Linked DNA regions of Homo sapiens: region 2 is linked to region 1. The links are contacts of gene promoters, found by promoter capture Hi-C in blood cells and fetal thymus (Javierre and others, 2016). All regions are on one chromosome and are shown on one strand. The core of a region is centred on a gene start or on the middle of the fragment in contact, and the rest is flanking DNA. Distances in the headings are between cores, read along the strand shown. Region 1 holds the start of TEX12 (testis expressed 12). Region 2 has its middle 5.2 kb from the start of DIXDC1.

Region 1 (3,626 bases), core at 751-3,250:
ACAGAATAAAAGATTAAGGCTCCATAGGCATACAGCTTACCTCCAATTCTCTTGGCCTCTTGCAATTTCTATTATCAGGCTTTACAAGGTGATTTGCCATCATATTCCGAAGGCACCAGCTACAAAGCTTAGAACAATGCCAGATTTAGGTACAAACTCCATGCTACAAGCTCTCTGGAATCCTTCCCTGTTTCCCACTCCTACTGCTGATGTTAATTTAGACTGTCATTATCTGTCACTTTCCTAAACTCAATTTCTCCCTCCTCTAAATCATTCTATCAACTGCTATTTGGGTAATCTTTCAAAACTTTGATTACTGCATTCCTTTAACTCAAAAACTTTCATTGTTCCAGAATAAGTTGAAATTCCATGATATGGCCTTCAAGGTCCTGTATTATCTGGTGCAAGCCTACTAGTCCCATCATTTTCAACTACTCCTCTCTATGTACTTAGCCAAATGAGTCTCTCTGGCAATTCTGCCTTGTTTCAGGACTGGCTCAGTTAAGATTCTTTTATCTTCGGCCGGGCGCGCTGGCTCACGGCTGTAATCCCAGCACTTTGGGAAGCTGAGGCAGGAAGATCACCTGAGGTCGGGAGTTCGAGACCAGCCTGGCCAGCATGGTGAAACCCTGTGTCTACTAAAAATCCAAACATTAGCCAGGCGTGGTGGCAGGCGCCTGTAATCCCAGCTACTTGGGAAGCTGAGGTGAGAGAATCGCTTGAACCCAGGAGAGGGAGGTTGCAGTGAGCCGAGATTGTGCCATTGCACTCCAGCCTGGGCAACAGAGCGAGACTCCACCTCAAAAAAAAAAAAAGGATTCTTCTATCTTCACAAAATCTTAATGTTTAAACAGGTCTTACAGTTCATCTAATTCAATCTCATTTTTTACAAGTGAGAAAACAGGGACAGTGACGGTGGATCAAGTGACACCAGTAAGACTGAGCTAAATTAGAACCGAGATCTCACTCGAGTCTGAGGTTATTCCCACTGTCCAACCTTACTTTAAAGTAGCTTCAAATTTTACTTTTACTTTTCCATAAATTCGGAAGGGATTTTCCCTAGGAGTCCAAATGTTGAAACCTGGAAGGGTATAGTCTCTGTGTCTTTGAGATGAGGGGAGCCCTGTCCATATTCAAGTTATCAATTGACTTTGTTGTTTTTGAGAAACGATGCTGATTTGGGTAACTTTAACACATCTGTTTGATTAGTCCTATAAAATATGCATATATAGAAGACAGAAAGAGCAACAACAAATTTGAATGATGCTTGTTAAGTAAATTCTGTATCGTACGTCTCCATTCCTGCCAGTACCTTTATAGTATGTAAGTTTACGTGCTGTAATAGTATTAATAGTATCTAGAAAATACTACACATGCACAGCAGTGCTAACTTTGCCTTGGGAGTTGGAAAATACTTCAGAGAAGCCAACAGGCAGATTTTTCTCTCTTCCCTTCCCCTTCTAATTTTCCCTTTCCCCTTCACCCCCTTCTCTTCTCTCCCCAAGTAACACTGTGCACCTATGTCAAACGAAAACTTATAATCAAGTAACTGTTTCTGCAAAAATAAGTTCGTTTTCCTGTCATGGCTCAAGGCCTCAGCAGATCCAGGCCTGGTGGACGGGCTGGTCTTCGTCGTGTGCCAAACACTGACCACTGCCCTGGCTCTGCCATCTTAGGCTTAGTGACCTGGCTGTTACTAAGCACTGTCCCCTCTGCCCCATGCAGCTGTCTCCTTCTAGTCTTCTCCCTCTTCTCAACGCGATCCTAGCCCCTCAGGCCATTTCACCTCCATTTTCCCTCACTTCCCGCCGCCCCTCCGCACTTCCTCCCTACTGTTGTTTCCGCCCCACTAGAGCCCCTCAGAGGAAGTTTCCATCCTCGCACCCTTCCTTGTGTCACAGTCCGTCACATTCTCACAGGCGCCCATCCCTCCAGCCCCACCCCAAGGCCAATGTACTTCGCGGTATGGGGACCTTCCTCGTCAGCGAACGCGAGGGAGTGAAGACCCCGGGCGCGGGGTGCTCGGACTTCGGGGGTGGAGGTGGGAAGCGCGCCGCACTCCCAGCAGCCCCTGCACGAGTCACGTGACAGCTCTCCCACCACCACCCCCCCCAACTTCCCCACCGTAGCCTCCCAGAGCCAGGCCCCACGGAAAGGCAGCTTTTTCCCGGTTTTCTCCCGCTCTTTCCCCTCCACTTGGAATACTCGTGAAACAAAAATCTCTCCCTGCCACCCTGTGTGTGTTTGAACCAGGAAAAAATCTGAAACTGGTCAAGAAAGAACAAGGAAGACTTGCCAAAGCAAGGCCGGTGTGTGTCCCAGCAGCTTAGAATCTCAGCAAAGGAACACAAAATAGCACATCCACGGCCTCTTTTCGAGTAAAATTTACTTGGTTTGTTTGCAGGAAGGGTTTAAAACTGCGTTTGCAGATGCTCTGTTTGCAGGAAGGCTTTAATCACGTGTTCCCCTGGCCCACAAGCAAGGCTTTTAGATCCAGAGCCTCAGTTACTGCCCCCTCTTCCTCTTTGGTGCAACCAAACGTTCAGAATCACGCCTTCTTAGAAAATTCTTCCCCGGGTGTGTCAATAAGTTAAGTCTAATTGGCAACAGCTATCAAAAAGTGTTGCATAACACACATGGCTCACATAATTGTAGCTTTGCCTCATCGGGTGCTTTAATGCGGAGGCTTTGACCTGCAATTTCAAAGATATACATTCCAAGCTTACGCCCAGTTAGTGGATGTGGAAGAAAAAAAAAAGCAAATTACCTCATAACACAAAGGTCAATAACACACATCCATAAGCTCCAGGTACAAAATCTTACATCTTAGAGAACTATATTTAACATTTACATACATTACTAAGGTTTTTTTTTTCCTTTTGCTTGATTAAATGTTAGTTATCATTAAGTCTTGGAAGTATTCTGTGTGTGTATATTTATTTGCTGTTTGTGAAGAAGCCGGTTGTTTTAAATAAGTTCCTAGAAAATAAGCGCTCAATGTGTTTAATCTGAGTTGCTAATATTGTGAAATATAGGCCACATAATACTAGCCTAGATAACTATGGCGAAGTAAGGAGTCTCAAACACTGTCCCAGAACAATAGCAATCTGTGTTGAATTTTTACCCTCTGTGGTAAAATGAAGGGAAAAGGAATGAAGTTTTAGTTTGCCTTAATTTTTATCTTTATTGTTTCAGACTCTTCAGCAGTATAAAGTTTTCATCAAGTCAAATATATTCACTTTAAAGTGACTGTGCTTTATTCTGATACCATGTCCTTCCTAATTTGGGGGGCACAGGTGAGATAAGTTTTATGAAATAAAAAGATTAAAAATTCTTACATTTTTAGTGTCCTTCCTTGGTAAAATGTAGAGTTGTCCACTGTGTTTATCTCCTCCTCCTTATTATCATGGTTGCTGTTATTATTTTTAATGGTTCATTAAACCCAAGGGTCTGGGAAATACTCATGGAATTCATCTCACAGCCTTCACACTGTATGATATTTAAACAGGTGGTTGTCCATCTGATTCTTAAAATATTTCCAAGAAAAATGATTCCACCTAATGCATAAATGCTTTCATCAGATTAAGAGAACACCATGGACATTTTATTTTCTTTTATTTTTTAAA
Region 2 (3,632 bases), core at 88-2,587, 230 kb after region 1:
TCTGTTAATAAATAGAGTAAGATGTTAGCCTAAGTAAGACTTTGAGCCTTAAAATAAAACCATCATTTGGTGAAAATATTGCCTGTGACTTCTCTCTGCATAAAAATAAGAAGTGTGAAATTCAAATCTATATAAAATGTAACACAACTATTATGGCCAATAATTCATGACTATAAAGAAACAGAAAGGCAGTTTGAATAAACAAATAATTACAATTGTCAATAAAAATATTTTAAATGACCCTTGGAATAATGTCTTTTTTTTTTTTTTTTTTTTGAGAGAGAGAGAGACAAGATCATCTCACTCTGCTGCCCAAGCTAGAATGCAGTGGCACAAAAAAATTACAAAATTAATACAAAAAAATACAAAAATTAGCCACTCATGGTGGTATGTGCCCATAGTCCCAGCTACTCAGGAGGCTGAGGTGGGAGGATCGCTTGAGCCCGGGAGGTTGAGGCTACAGTGAGCCGTGACTGCACCACTCCACTTCAGCCTGGGCAAGAGTGAGACACTGCCTCAAAAAAAGAGAAAAGGTCCGGGAGCGGTGGCTCACGCCTGTAATCCCAGTATATTGGAAGGCCAAGGCGGAAGGCGGGCAGATCACCTGAGGTCAGGAGTCCGAGACCAGCCTGACCAACATGGAGAAACCCCCTCCCTACTAAAAATACAGAATTAGCCGAGCATGGTGGCGCATGCCTGTAATCCCAGCTAATCTGGAGGCTGAGGCAGAAGAATCGCTTGAACCTGGGAGGTGGAGGTTGAGGTGAGCCGAGATCACACCATCGCACACCAGCCTGGGCAACAAGAGCGTAACTCCGTCTCAAAAAAAAACCAAAAGAAAACTCTAAATGGTCTAGCTTGTTCTATACTGTGTCATTTAGTACTTAATTATACGTAATTTAGGAATGTGAATCTTTATCTCTTTTACTGTATTCTCAAGCCAAATATAAATAATTTTTAGTATCCTGTATTTTCCTCTCATTCATTCATACATTGTTTCATTAAACATCCATTAAATAGATACTGAGCACCTCTTATGAGTCATTATATGCCAGGTCTTATTCTTTTAGCAAAAACTTGAATAACTGACAGTTACACATAAATATACACATAACACATGGGGCAAGAAACAAGACTGGAGGGAAGAATAGTAAAAGGAAGACTAGTAAAACTGAGAATCCGATGACTAGTATGTGAGGAAAGAGTATACATGATGAATGTGACAGACTGAGTGGGCAGAAGAAGGGAGAAAGACAGAATGGTGAAAGACTAGAGTAGGATGTCGCCAAAGTAATCACCAGATGCTAGTGCTTAATATAAACCACACCAAAGCAGATATGTGAAAATATTCTACATGATTTTTTCTTTTTTTTTTTTTTTTGAGACGGAGTCTCGCTTCTGTCGCCCAAGCTGGAGTGCAGTGGAGCGATCTCGGCTCACTGCAAGCTCCACCTCCCAGGTTCACGCCATTCTCCTGCCTCAGCCTCCCAAGTAGCTGGGACTACAGGCGTCCGCCACCACGCCCGGCTAATTTTCTACATGATTTTTTTAACCTATTCCTGGGTTATGGATTTTTTTTCTTTTTTCACATGAAGTTTTAAAATTCACATTTCAAAAGTTATCTGCCAGTGGCCAGGCGTGGTGGCTCACGCCTGTAATCCCAACACTTTGGGAGGCCGAGGCAGGAGGATCACTTGAAGTCAGGAGTTGAGAGACCAGTCTGGCCAACATGGTGAAACCCCATCTCTACCAAAATAAAAAATAAAAAAATTAGCCAGGCGTGGTGTCCTACGCCTGTAGTCCCAGCTGCTCTGGAGGCTGAGGTGGGAAAATCACTCAAACCCGGGAGGCAGAGGTTGCAGTGAGCTGAGATCGTGCCACTGCACTCCAGCCTGGGAACAGAGTGAGACTCTGTCTCAAAAAAAAAAAAAAAAAAAAAAGGTTATCTGCCAGCTAGCCTGTGGGTGAGTATTATATTAAGACTAGCGACATCTGGTGGATATTTTGGAAGTGACACTTGAGTTTCTCTACGACTGCACTGAAAATGCACCCCTATGCCTCTGGGCTATCAGTTGATCAGGTGTCAGAGCTCCACATCAGTAATTACACTAACATCAAATCATCTTTCTGCAAGATTCAAGGTCTCATTGCAACAGGTAGCCTGATTTCTATCAAGGACCTAACTCCTAACTGATGTCCAGCTGCCTTCTGAAAGATGTATACAAAATCTGACGCTACAATTGTTGTACGAGGTAATTTATTATTTTAAATGTTGACAGTCTTTGATGTAGTCTTTTTTTAATTATTTATTTATTTATTTATTTTGGGATGGAGTCTCAATCTGTCACCCAGGCTGGAGTGCATTGGCACGATCTCAGCTGACTGCAACCTCTGCCTCCCGGGTTCAAGTGATTCTCCTGCCTCAGCCTCTCGAGCAGCTGGGATTACAGGCGTCCGCCACCACGTCCAGCTAATTTTTGTTTTTTTAGTAAAGATGGGGTTTCACTATGTTGGCCAGGCTGGTCTCAGACCTCAGGTGATCCACCCCCCTCAGCCTCCCAAAGTGCTGGGATTACAGGCGTGAGCCACCGCACCTGGCCTGACATCAGTCTTTAAAAAAATTTTTTTTGAGACAGTGTCTCACTCTATTGCCCAGGCTAGAGTGCAGAGGCACAATCACAGCTCACTGCAGCCTCGACCTCCCAGGCTCAAGCAATCCTCCCACCTCATTCAGCCTCCTGAGTAGTTGGGACTACAGGTACATGCCACCACACCCAGCAAATTTTTAAATTTTTTGTAGAAAGGGGGGGTCTCGGCCAGTCACGATGGCTCACACCTGTAATCCCAGCACTTTGGGAGGCCGAGGCAGGTAGATCATTTGAGGTCAGGAGTTCGAGACCAGCCTGATCAACATGGTAAAACCCCATCTCTACTAAAAATACAGGAATTAGCTGGGCATGGTGGTGGGCACCGGTAATCCCAGCTGCTCGGGAGGCTGAGGCAGGAGAATCGCTTGAACCCAGGAGGCGGAGGTTGCAGTGAGCCAAGATGGTGCCACTGAACTCCAGCCTGGGCAATAAGAATGAAACTCCATCTCAAAAAAAAAAAAAAAAAAAAAGGAAAGAAAGAAAGAAAGAAAGGAGGGTCTCACTATGTTGCTCAGGCTGGTCTTGAACTCCTGGCCTCAAGCAATCCTGGCATCAGCCTCCCAAAGTCCTGGGATTACAGGCATAAGCCACTACCTCACCTGGCCTGACATAGTCCTAAATAAGGAAATTAATTATTTACAATGTGGGGGGCAGGGGTGAGCGAACCTAAAAGTCCAACAACAGAGAAGTGGTTAAGAAAATTACAGCCATTATAATGTTTACCAAACGTGCCCACATTAAAACAAACATTTTAACAATTTTATGTTAACGTTAAGTGAAACAAAGCAAGTTAAAAAGTTTGTGCAGCATATGATCGCATGTTAAAAATTTACTAACACAGTGAAACCCCATCTCTACTAAAAATACAAAAAATTAGCTGGGTGTGATGGCACGTGCCTGTAGTCCCAGCTACTCAGAAGGCTGGGGCAGGAGAATTGCTTGAACCCGGGAGGCAGAGGTTGCAGTGAGCTGAGATTGCTCACT

Evidence for each region. The method cuts DNA at HindIII sites, captures the fragments that hold promoters and counts their contacts. A CHiCAGO score of 5 or more calls a contact.
Region 2: a contact is called between a fragment that was not itself captured here and the fragment with the promoter of TEX12 in region 1, in 2 of 17 cell types (neutrophils and megakaryocytes). The highest score is 8.6, in neutrophils.

The regions. Positions count from the first base shown.
Region 1 is chr11:112,165,746-112,169,371 of GRCh38, reverse strand. It overlaps TEX12 (testis expressed 12), which reads right to left and starts at 2,000. Exons shown (of 5, transcript NM_031275.4): 1 at 1,885-2,000; 2 at 41-119. The coding sequence starts at 103. It overlaps TEX12-AS1 (TEX12 antisense RNA 1), which reads left to right and starts at 2,229. Exons shown (of 3, transcript XR_001748384.2): 1 at 2,229-2,309; 2 at 3,196-3,296. The HindIII fragment of the contact is 2,594 bases long and covers 130-2,723 here.
Region 2 is chr11:111,930,336-111,933,967 of GRCh38, reverse strand. It overlaps a transcript of DIXDC1 not described here. Among named protein-coding and RNA genes, the nearest start is that of DIXDC1, 5.2 kb to the left of the region's middle. The HindIII fragment of the contact is 7,539 bases long and covers 1-3,632 here.